Linked DNA regions of Homo sapiens: all the other regions are linked to region 1. The links are contacts of gene promoters, found by promoter capture Hi-C in blood cells and fetal thymus (Javierre and others, 2016). All regions are on one chromosome and are shown on one strand. The core of a region is centred on a gene start or on the middle of the fragment in contact, and the rest is flanking DNA. Distances in the headings are between cores, read along the strand shown. Region 1 holds the start of FKBP4 (FKBP prolyl isomerase 4). Region 2 overlaps RAD51AP1 (RAD51 associated protein 1). Region 3 overlaps AKAP3 (A-kinase anchoring protein 3).

Region 1 (3,925 bases), core at 802-3,301:
GCCTACTTGTCCCTCCAGATTCAGTTACTAGCAGCTTGGCTTATGAGTCAACTAACCTTCTTGTCTTTCTTGAGGTGCAGCAAGACTTGGTTTGAAAAAGGAGACAAAAGGCTGAGAGATCTGAGTTCAAGTTTCCGCTGTATGGTAAGTTTTTAAAATTCTCCACACTTTATTTGTAAAGCAGTGATGATAATCCCTATCTCCTACAGTTGTTGGAAGATTAGACCAGTAAAAGGTTGAATAATAGATTATTATTATAATCGGCAAAGGGGGAAGTATTTATGCCACACTTCCTCCTTCTTCCTTCATGCCAGTGGTCGTCAGACTAAGGTCTGGTTTGGAGACAGGAGAGCGAGAGGAGTATGAGTGAAGAGAATAGAAACAGTTCAAAACAGGTAAGGAAGAAACCAGGTTATAGGTGAACCCGGAGGCTCTCCATGGGACCTTAAACTCTGACTTGGGAGCTGAGTATTCCTCTGGTAGTTAGTCCAGGGCTGGAGTATTTCCCAGAAACGTAAAGGCTTCTTTAGCGCCACCTGGTAGGTGTGTGGTTACCCTCCAAGGGAAAGCTTCCACGAAGAATAGACAGGGGCTTTGAGGAGTAGAAAGGTAAAAGGGAAGGAATGATGGATCAAAGGGGAAATGAGCTTTCCTGGAATAACAATCTCGTAGAAAACGGCAGGACGCTGGAGCGAGAAGGGGAAGTCACATGCCACAGGAGAGCCGCTGGAGCAGACGCTTGAGGTCCCCAATAATCTGGTGCAAAGACAGATGCACTTCTGGACCAGGTAAAGGCCCCCTGAGGTGGGTGCCGCACACGCGGAGCTCAGCGGTGGGAAGCCAGGATGAGGACGCAGCAGCGGATGGGGAGAAGGCATAAGACGCAGGCTGGGAATTCACCATCTCTGATTCTCCCTGGAACCTGCTCCGACCCAAGGCAGGTTGTCCTGGCCCAGGTCAAGATGCCCTCCCCGCAGCTCCCCAGGCTATTTGTAGTCGAGCGGTCACTCGGCGGCAGGCTCCACAGCAGAGCGCCTCCTCCCCGCCCCACACCCCGCAGCCCTGGCTCCGGGAGGCGGCGGAGGGGGGAGGGGACTACAGCTCCCGGCATGCCCCGCGCCCGGCCTCCCCGGGGCCGAGGGAGGGGGCGCCGCGCGGCGAGTGGGGACCTCGCTGGGTCCCGGCGTCGGCAGGGGACCCCGGGAGGGCGCCGGAACCCTGTCGCGCCTGCGTCGCACAAAGGCCGAAGGGCCAGGAAAGCACTGTGGGGAGTCGCTCCCCGTCCTGGCCCGTGTTCCACCGCCCGGGTGGGCGAGCCCTGGCACCGCCACCAACGAGGCGGCCCGCGGCTGGCAGCTCCGCTGGGGCCGCGAGGTCGGGGGCGGCGTGGCGTGGGAGGCCCGGCCTGGCCCCGGGCTGCGGCTCGGGTGCCCGCGGCGGTCGCCTCGCCCCGCCCCTCTCCGCCGCCCCGCGCGCGCCGGGGTGGGCACTGCAATCCCGACCCCCTGCCCGGGCCCGGGCGCTGCCGGCTGGGGAGCCTGGGGCCTCGGCCCGCGCACCTAGGCCGCCCCCCTGCCGAGCGCATGGCCGGCCTCGGTGCCTTAAACGACGCAGCCCGGTCCGGGACGGCGATGCCACCGGCCCCCGGCGGGACGGCCGCGAGGCTGCAAAGGCGGCCGCCTCGACCCGTGCCCGGCCGCGGGCTCCGGGCGCGGCGGAAGGGCGGCCCGCGGGGCCCCGGGTTCCGACGCCTCCGCAGGCCCCGCCGCCCCTCACCTTCAGCACGCCTTCGTCCTGTTTGGGGCTGATGTCCACTCCCTCCATGGGCAGCGGCGCCGACTGCGCCCCGCTCTCGGTCGCCTTCATCTCCTCGGCTGTCATCTCCGCGCGGCGCGCCGTTTATCCGGGAGCTGGTGCCGGCGCGAGCGCACTCTGGGCCGCGGGCGGGGGCGCTACCTGCGGGGCGTGCGGGAGGCCGGGCGCGGCGGCACTGACTGCGGACCGCGAGGAGGCTTGAGCACCTCTGCACGCGGCGCGAGAGCTGGGGTAGGTGGGTCAGGAGCGGCTCGGGGAGCGATTGGTCCCGCCCCGCCGCGAGGGAGGGGCTGGGAGGAGCGGGAGCGCAGACAGAGGGGGCGGGGTGCAGAACTTTCTAGAGACGGCGGGACTGAGCCGGTTCGGGCTCAGTGCTGCGGGCGCTTCGGAATTTTTTTTTCTTTTTTTTTTTTTGGTTCTTGCCTCCTTCTGGCTGCCTGCCCCCTCCCCCTTCTCCTGGGACCCTCGGACTCGGGATCTCCCCGGCGGCCTCCCTTGGCCCTTCCTCCCTCCCTCCCATCCCCGCCCGCTTCCCTGTCTAACCGGATTCTTCCAGATTCTTCTCGATCGATCTCCCGACATCACTCCACCAGTCCGCTGCGCCTGCGGCGGGGTGTGGGGAGCGCAGGCTGCGGGATGGCAGTGGCGGCGCCCCCTCCCCGGGACCGGCCGTCACCACGGGCGGCGTGGCCTCTCTGCTATGACCCGCGTAGACCCTTCCCTACTTGGGGGAAAGAGGGCAAGGGCGTGCGCGGGGAGCGGGGAGTGAGTGGACAGCGCTGCCCCGCTGCAGAGAGCCGGGGAAAGCGACCTCGATTTCCCCAGATCCGAGAAGCCCCGGCCAGGCAGCGATGCCTCGCTCAGCGCCTGCAGATGCTGCGAGCAGCGGGGTTGGCAAGGCATGGCCCGCCCAGCTCGGAACTCAGATGGGGCACACACTCAGGGGACCCTTCCCGGCGGTAATAAAACTGCCGTTTCCGCGAATGCTTACAAAGATGGGTTCCCCTCACGAAAAAAGTCACTCGGTTTTCCTAAAGGCCCACAGAAGGAGTATTTTCTTCTCAATGTTTGCTTCCCGAGTGTTTTTCGACAGGCTGTGGAGCGCGCAGGTGCCGGTGTCACCTAAGCTATGGTCGTGGGACCTAGAGAGCCATCTAGAGAGGGGCCTGGTTTTGCTCAGCACCTAACCCCAGTTTAGCATAGTGCCTGGTGAGTGATGTCCCAATAGTTACTGGCTGCATGAATTTTCCTTTTTTAAATTTCTTTTTCCAAGTCTTGGCTGATTTTTTTTTCTTTTTTTTTTTTTTTTGAGACAGGGTCTTGCTCTGTCGCCCAGGCTGCAGTGCGGTGGTGCGATCTTGGCTCTCTGTAGCCGGGACTACAGGCGTCCGCCACCACGCCGACTAATTTTTGTATTTTTAGTAGAGACGGGGTTTCGCCATGTTGCCCAGGCTGGTCTCGAACATCTGGTCTCAAATGATCCGCCCGCCTCGGCCTCCCAAAGTTCTCGGATTACAGGCGTGAGCCACTGCGCCCAGCCTGAATTTTTATTCCAATAATAACTGTATTTTTGGACTTCCCGTTATGTGCCCGGCACTGTGCGATTGGACGCCATTAGTCTCATCAAACTAAATTGAAAGCTTTTTAGAGATGAACTTTCAGCGTCATAATGTGATGATTTATTGTAGTCCCTGCCGACGGAACTTGAAAGGGATGCAGAAGAAAAAGCCCTTCGCTTCAGCAATTTACAGCCCAAATGAGTTGAGCCATAATGAAGACGTCTCTTTAGGTGGCTGGAGACAGCTTCAGAGGATACGGGGCGCTGCCTCTGTAGGGGTTAAATCCACTACTTTTATGCAGAAGTAACAGTGCCAGGGGTCACCCAAACTCCGGGAGACCAGGATGGTGGGTGCTGGCTTCCGGGGTGGCAGTTTACCGCAAACTGTCCTTGGCTTGCACCTACTGATTCTCCACGTGTGGCGGTTTCTTTTCTGCGTCTTTTTCTTCATCGGAAGCGGACAGTGTGGGACCCCCCCTTTAATTCTGTTCGGCACGTACATAGTGGAGCCCTTCAGATTGCCTGCCGTTACATTAACACATAGCCTAATAC
Region 2 (3,801 bases), core at 301-2,800, 1.7 Mb before region 1:
TTACTTTGTACAAGGCACTGCACTAGCTGGAATACTAAAAGTACCTTCAGGGAGTCTGCAATTAAAGGAGGAGGGTGGGGAAACAAGACATGCTAATAATTATCCTATAAAAGGCAGACTATAAAGTCCTATTCAAGCTGCTCAAAAGTGCTATGGAGTATAAGAGGAAGAAAACGTCAAAGACAGATAAGGAAAAGTTACATAAAGGAAGAAGCACTGAGATGTACCTTAAAGAATTTATTTTTTTAGAATAACAGTTTTCTTAAGATATAATTCACATATCATAAAGTTTACCTTTTAAAGTAAACAATTCAGCAGTTTTTAGTACATTCACAGAGCTGTAAAACCACCAACACTACCTAATTTCAGAACATCTTTATTACCCCAAAAAGAAACCCCATACCCATTAGCATTCACTTCCTGTTTACCCCTCTCCCCTCCTAGCAACCATTAATCTGCTTTCCGTTTCTATGGATTTGCCTATTCTGGACATTTCATGCAAATGAAATCATGTAATATGTGACCTGTATATCTGGCTTCTTTCACTCAGAATGATGTTTCCAAGGTTCATCCATATTGCAGTATATATCAGTTATCAGTTGTCATTTCTTTCTATGGCTGAAAAATATTCCATTTTGTGGAAACCACATTTTACTTATCCATTCATTAGCAGATAGACATTTAGATTGCCTCCATTTTTTTTTAGCTATTATGAATAATGTTGCTGTGAACATTCATGTATGGGTTTTTGTGTGGGCATATGTTTTCATTTCTCTTGGATACATACATAGGCTGGGTCATGTAATAACTCTGTTTAACATTTTGAGGAACTGCTAAACCATTTTCCAATTTAGCTGCACCATTTTACTTTCCCACCAGCAATATATGAGGGTTCAAATTTCTCCACATTCCTTGTCTTTTGTATTAAGTCATCTAGTGGGTGTGAAGTATTATCTCATTCTGATTTTGATTTGCATTGCCCTCACAGCTAATGATATTGAGCATCTTTTCATGTGTTTATTGGTTATTTGTTTATCTTCTCTGGAGAAAGTCTATTGAAATCTTTTGCACATTTTAAATTGTGTTGTTAGTCTTTTTACTGTTGAGTTTTACGAGTTCTGTGTATACTCTGGATACAGTCCCTTATCAGTTATCTGATTTACAAATATTTTCTCCCACGTGTGGGTTCCTTTTTCTATATATTTAAAATGTAATACAAGAAACTCACAAACAAAAACCAAAAAAAAGAAAAGCAAAAAAGAGCATGACATGAGGTAAGTTTCTCCAGGCTAACTCACTTTTCATAGAGAAACTTGTGGCAGTAAAACATTATATATGCCATGTTCCATTTGTTAATATTCCCCTTCCGCCCATCTCTTCTCCATACTGCAAGTTTTGGGTCTCTAAGGACTTCCTTCACTCCTTTCTGCCTCTTGATACTATCTAATGGAATTCCACGGTTAGTCTAGAAACTATGGGAACTTCTCACTGCTGGATAAATCTTAACAACATGGGGAGAAGACATCTTTTTCTGCAAGAAAATACATGGTTTTATATTTTAAAAACTGTCCTCATATTAAGTCATCTTGTGTCTTAATCATCTTAAGTCATCTAATGTCATTTTTAACAAAGTAGTCTCGTATGATTTGAGGAATTCAGAGATAAGTGCTGGGTCCTGTCAAAACCAGTCATAACTTCTGAATTCTACAATCATTATTGTCTTAATATTTAATGATACTTCCTTGAATGTTTGTGAATTTCTTTAAGTCAGAAAGCCAGAAAAAAATAGTACGTCCTGTTTTCTGACTGCACCTAGTAAAATAAGACCTATGACTCTGCCCAAGTTCTAATTTAAATCAAGGGTTCGAATCTGTGTCTCTTTAAAATTAACACATCTAATGTCATATATTTACTGCATGTCTTACCTCTCACCTTTTTTTAGGGGTTTTCTCTTGTACTGGGATTTCTTCTTTCCGGAGATTGTTCAAGTTAGGTTTTGGTTTATCTTGTTTTAACTCCTTTGGTGCTGTTCTGGATTTCTTGTTTAAAGGTACAGTTGCAGAAACAAAATCATCTATTCATGTGTGAATTAAAACCAAAAGAAAAATATTATTTTCTTCATAAATGAAAATCATTACCATGTGTGTTCAAGTTTTTATAGGCTAGGCAAATTGTTTAATTTCCACAATTTAAAAATCATTGTTAGTATTTTGTTTATCTTTACTCTCATTTATCTATTTCGACTTTTGTTTTTGTGCCCTTTATATTTAAAAATATCAGTCTATCAAAAACCAATTCACTAAAAACTGCAAAAGCAATTAAGACAGCATATAAGTGTCAAAGAAAAAATGATTAAAAACCTGTAAAACCATTAGAAAAATTGGTAGAATTTAATCACATTGAAAAGTGGAAATAAATTATTTTTATGGGAACTTCACAATGTAGCCAAATATCTTTTTTCAAAGCCCATTACTTGGGCCAGGCACAGTGGCTCACACTTGTAATCCCAGCACTTTGGGAGGCCAAGGCGGGCAGATCACCTGAAGTCACGAGTTCAAGACCAGCCTGGCCAAAGTGGTGAAACCCTGTCTCTACTAAAAAATACAAAAATTAGCCAGGCATGGTGGCGGACACCTATAATCCCAGCTACTCAGGAGGTGAGGTGGGAGAATCGCTTGAACCTGGGAGGCAGAGGTTGCAGTGAGCCAAGATCGCGCTGTTGCACTCTAGCCTAGGTGCAAGAGTGAGACTCCGTCTCAAAAAAAAGAGAAAAAAAAGCCCATTACCTATTCCTAGTACATTAACCATGCTAGAGGAAATAAGCATTATGGGGGGAAGAGAAAGTAGCTCCTATTTGAGGATTTTTACAATAGTAGTATTTTCTCTTTCCATTACCATAATGATCTTCCTAAGATCCTACCAAAGTAACTTCTTATTTTCTTGCAAAAGGATGTTCTTTTCCAGTCCATTACTGTTTCTCACAGGTTTTTCTGTCTTACCAATCCTCTGAACTGTTGTAGTTCTACTCTTGACTGTCAACGTAAAACTACTGCTGTGGCTTTTCCACATGTATACAACACATATATGCATACTTTCAGGGTCTATGCAGTCTTCATCACATACTCAGCAAGCACTAATACTTGTTGTCTCTTATATGCTTCCCCATGTAAAAATAAGATAACTTAGGACTCCCCCCACCTACTACTACACACCTGGCAATTTATAAGTATCTGATGACAGACTGATGACAAAAAAAAAAAAAAAGCTAGATGTTATACTCTACACTCTTTTTCCCAAGTGGTAGATACAGTTAAGGCTGTGCTCAAGGCAAAAACAGATTCCTTCAAACCGAAGACTTACTAAATATTTGACTTACAGAAAACTCTAGTGGTCTAAGAAAGAAATATTAAATCCACTTCAACATATAACATAATCTAATGCAATGTTCCTCAAACTTTTCAATCATAGCAGAGTCAAGTAAACATATGACTAATGCTTAAAAGGCATAACATAAGCCTAACCTTTCTTCAAGGTCTTGTTTTATAGTACAATTAATAGGGATTTTATATAATATGCTGTAACATCTTTGTATCTCAAAAAGACAGTGTTTTCCTTCTTCAGGGATGGAATAGGAGACAAACCTCTATGTTGCAACTATGGACTTTAGAGTAGTTTAGATCTAAAGAGACTTTTCACCTGGCCTGTTCATTTATCACCTACTAACATAATTTTTATCAGTATAATTATCAGCATAATTATCCCAAATGATTAGAAAACTATCTTTCCAGACCTACCTCATAT
Region 3 (4,012 bases), core at 872-3,371, 1.8 Mb before region 1:
CAGACGTGAGCCACTGTGCCCAGCGATAAATAACTTTTTTGAAGGAACCCTGTGATAAACCAGCCGCTTTTGAATCTGTTGCAATTTTCATCATTATCTCGTGGCCATGCTTGGAATTTCTTTTTGCTCCATGGAAACTATATACTAGTCCTATATTTAATCATTAATTACAGAGTAGCTGAGGTAACATTTTCAGAGAATGTAGTAATAAAGCATAGAAAGAGTAGCTAACCAAATGCCTCTTGGTGTGATTTTTCCCACTACAGTTTCTCAGGTCAGGCATTGCAAATGATAAAATAGGGTTATTGTATCTCTGAAGATCTAAGACAAATTATAACCCAGAGATGGTCAGTTTAGGCAAAATATCCTAAAAATAATTTTTTTACAGAAGGCAAGATGCTTATAAATAAAAAGAGTCCTGGCTGGATCTGACAAAATGAAGTGATTCCATGGGATATGCATAAAATTTAGACCCTCAATTCTTTTATTTCTCATTCTCCTCTGCCGTCCTCTAGATTTGTTAATACATAATACTTACTCTGCTGCTTTAAGTGGAATCCATTGGCAAAATGTCCCCTTCCCGTATTCCCCCACCTATATTAAACACTCTAAAGCAGAGGTCCCCAACCCTCAGGCCATGGACCGGTACCAGTCCATGGTCTTTTAGAACCTGGCCACACAGCAGGTAAATGGTGAGCAAGTGAGCAAAGCTGAGCTCCACCTCCTGTCAGATCAGTGGTGGCATTAGATTCTCATAGGAGCTTGAACCCTATTGTGGAAAGTGTACGTTGTGCACTCCTTATGAGAATCTAGTGCCTGATGATCTGTCGCTGTCTCCCACCATCCCCAGATGAGACCATCTAGTTGCAGGAAGACAGGACTCCCACTGATTCTATATTATGGCATAATAGTAGAAATAGAGTGCACAACAAATGTAATGTGCTTGAATCATCCAGAAACCATACTCCCACCCCACTCCCATCCGTGGAAAAATTGTCTTTCACAAAACTGGTCCCTGGTGTGAAAAAGTTTGGGGACCACTGCTCTAAAGAGAGAATTAATCAGAATAAAGCCCAGTCCTTCTAAACTAAACATCAGCCCCTTGGAGTATATCTTCACCCCTCCTCTTTGTCCTGTTGACCATTCATTTTCTGGTAGCCTCACTACTGTTGCTATAGAGACAGTGATATCACCAATTGTGATTCTGATGTCACTCTCCAGTCCCAGCAAGGGGGAGGTACATGGAAGGCCACAGGAAGAAACAAGATCTTGAGCTGAGCAAGAACATCCCAGCATCTTCATTGACTTTAAAAGTATATTCTGGAGTCTTCCGTGGTTCACTATTCCAGTACTACAGAGGTAGGTAATCTTACTGGACTGATAAAACAGCCCATTTTCTGATCCTCTGTGGTTGGAAGGGAGAATTCAATGACAAGTGATAGGAAAATTGTTATGTTCAACCTAGCGTTGTTCTTCTGTCCAGCTGATTTTTTTTTTGTTTGAGATGGAGTCTCACTCTGTTGCCCAACTGGAGTGCAGTGCTGCAATCTCGGCTCACTGCAACCTCCACCTCCTGGATTCAAGTGATTCCTCTGCCTCAGACTCCCGAGTAGCTGAGATTACAGGCATCCACCATCTCACCTGGCTAATTTTTTGTATTTCTAGTAGAGACAGGTTTTCGCCATGTTGGCCAGGCTGGTCTCAAACTCCTGACCTCAAGTGATCCCCTCCACTTCGGCCTCCCAAAGTAATGGGATTACAGGTGTGAGTCGCCATGCCTGGCCTGCTCAGCCAATTTTAATTTTACCTGTGAGTCCTCTGGAAATAAGTGAACCTCTCCTTCAGCAGCTTTAAAGTCAAACCTACCATCTTTGCTGCTGACATTGTGATTTGGTTACAGATTTGACAAGATCTCCTCAGCTATCCTTTTGGAGACATGAGGGGCCTTACTTCCTGCTTCCCCATTTGATAGAGTAGAAGCTTGACTACCTACTGACTTTTCCTAGTCATTGTGTGGCCATTCCTAAATTTATTTTCTTTCCAGTGCCCCAAGAGCAAAATAGAACTGGTATAACCCCGAGTCCAATTCTCATACACTTTTATCTTCTCACTGTTATTTCTGAAGTCTTGGTTAGACAACAGAACTGGGAAAGGGCAGGATATCTATAGCTATGTGGTGAAAGTATCTATACTAACAGGGACTAGAAGAAGAAGCTCTTACTTAGGGAAGGTAAAAATAAAGACTTTCCACCGGAAAGCTTAACAATGAATGGTGCCATTGAGACACACACACACACAAATCTTTATTTAAAGAAAATCGATTGAAATTCTTATTTAATCAGCAACCAAGTTTATTGAGCTTCTACGATGTAGCAGGCACTTACAGAAAGGAAGGCAGTAAAAGAAAACGGATATGAGAAACATACTGTTCCCTCTCAAAACTAGTAATAAAACCTGGTTGAATGAACCTCAAAACTCGATCAAGTACTTAGCAACCCTGCAAGAACTTTGCTTATGCTTTCGCTTCTGCAATCTGAGTTTTTACATGAGTTTAGGAACCTTGGGTAAACAGGAGCCTCTCACTTAAAATGGATACAGGAGAAAACTGCCTTGAGATAGAGCTATGGTCTAGGATATAACGACCATAACCAAGCCCCTATGTTGCTTATGCCTTTCATGACTGGCATTCAGGTTTGCACTCCTCCTCAACTTGAAGTAATCATCACATTGACATTTTTGAGAAACATTTTAGTCCAATCCTTCTACTTGCCATGGGAAAATTTCACAGCTGCCAGAATGTTATCAGGGCTGGAATATCTAAAGGAATATATCTGCTGATTCTAGTATTTCCTTTCTGAGCCTCAATATCCTAATCTATAAGCTGAGAGTATTAGAAAACATGGTTTCTGAGGTCCATTTATCTTTAATAGATAACACAAAGTATCATTTTCTCTTTTTTTTTTCTACCCTAACTCCAGGATATTATTTACCAGCTTTTAAACTTATAGCAATTTATGAATCCATTCACTGACTTCATTAAACTCTTTAGATCTTCCTTCTTTTCCACTTTTATTATGAGAAACATTGATTTAGAAATCTGAATGTCATTATCATTAATAAGTTTTAAAGTACCTCTTTATAGATGCTGTCATCTAGGACAGACAGGAAGTTTTAAAAGTCCAAAACAAGCTTCATGATGCAGCTAAACCCACTCATAGGACCTAGAAAATAGAATTAAAACATTAGAATATATTTAAGTGAAGTGTTTGCTGAATATATTTGACTAGTAGTTATGCTTTCATGAAAAAAATACAAAAGCACTTTTAAGATGTTGATTTATTTGTACTAGTGGAATAGGAAGGTCTGTTAGTAAATCACTGAGTAAGTCTGTGCGGTGAACGTATCTCCCAAAGGAGTCAAGCTTCAAGGCGTCTTGAATATATGGATTACCGCCATAGTAACCGCCATAGTAAATTTGAGCAAGCCGTCTGTTTTTTTGTCCTTGGATTCTCCAATCCAAAAGGAAAAATGAACTATCTGAAAATGGGCAGGTGGTGCATATTCATTCTTCCAGCAGATAATTATTGAGCTCCAATTTTAAGATACTAGCTACTATAAGGCATACCAAGATGAATAGGAAAATGCCTCTCCCCTTATGAAGTCATCCAGTAAAGAAAATGAAATACATGGGAGCAATTAAACTACTAGATAGAATGTACACATTGAAACAAAATATGATGGAAACTTCAATGAGGGAGCAATCACATTCATTAGGTATCTAGAAAATATTTCATGGATGGGGTAGCCCTTGACCTGGGCTAAAAAGTAAGGGTAGAATTTAGAGAGCCATTACTGGGGGGCTGGGTGGATATTCAAGAAGAGAGTACAGTGCCCTAATGTCTTCCACTGAAATGTCTTAGTAGAACTAAAACAAGGAAGTTAATTAATCTGGAAGATATCTATGAACTCCCTTTATAACTTGAGGGTGTGTATTTCTCTCAAGTCCTCAAAG

What was found. Contacts are between HindIII fragments. The CHiCAGO score rates a contact against its expected background, and 5 or more counts as called.
Region 2: a fragment that was not itself captured here is called in contact with the fragment with the promoter of FKBP4 in region 1 in 1 of 17 cell types (neutrophils); the score reaches 5.9 in neutrophils.
Region 3: a fragment that was not itself captured here is called in contact with the fragment with the promoter of FKBP4 in region 1 in 1 of 17 cell types (naive CD4 T cells); the score reaches 5.7 in naive CD4 T cells.

The regions. Positions count from the first base shown.
Region 1 is chr12:2,793,096-2,797,020 of GRCh38, reverse strand. It overlaps FKBP4 (FKBP prolyl isomerase 4), which reads right to left and starts at 2,051. Exons shown (of 10, transcript NM_002014.4): 1 at 1,777-2,051. The coding sequence starts at 1,881. It overlaps ITFG2-AS1 (ITFG2 antisense RNA 1), which reads left to right. Exons shown (of 4, transcript NR_146317.1): 2 at 75-144. RefSeq lists enhancers at 1-588, 2,082-2,626, 2,627-3,172 and silencers at 1,003-1,412, 1,763-1,822, 1,853-2,232. The HindIII fragment of the contact is 2,886 bases long and covers 572-3,457 here.
Region 2 is chr12:4,542,036-4,545,836 of GRCh38, reverse strand. RAD51AP1 (RAD51 associated protein 1) reads right to left here. Exons shown (of 9, transcript NM_006479.5): 3 at 1,933-2,074. Among named protein-coding and RNA genes, the nearest start is that of RAD51AP1, 5.0 kb to the right of the region's middle. The HindIII fragment of the contact is 4,691 bases long and covers 1-3,801 here.
Region 3 is chr12:4,642,402-4,646,413 of GRCh38, reverse strand. It overlaps AKAP3 (A-kinase anchoring protein 3), which reads left to right. Exons shown (of 6, transcript NM_001278309.2): 2 at 1,222-1,359. Among named protein-coding and RNA genes, the nearest start is that of AKAP3, 4.6 kb to the left of the region's middle. The HindIII fragment of the contact is 278 bases long and covers 1,983-2,260 here.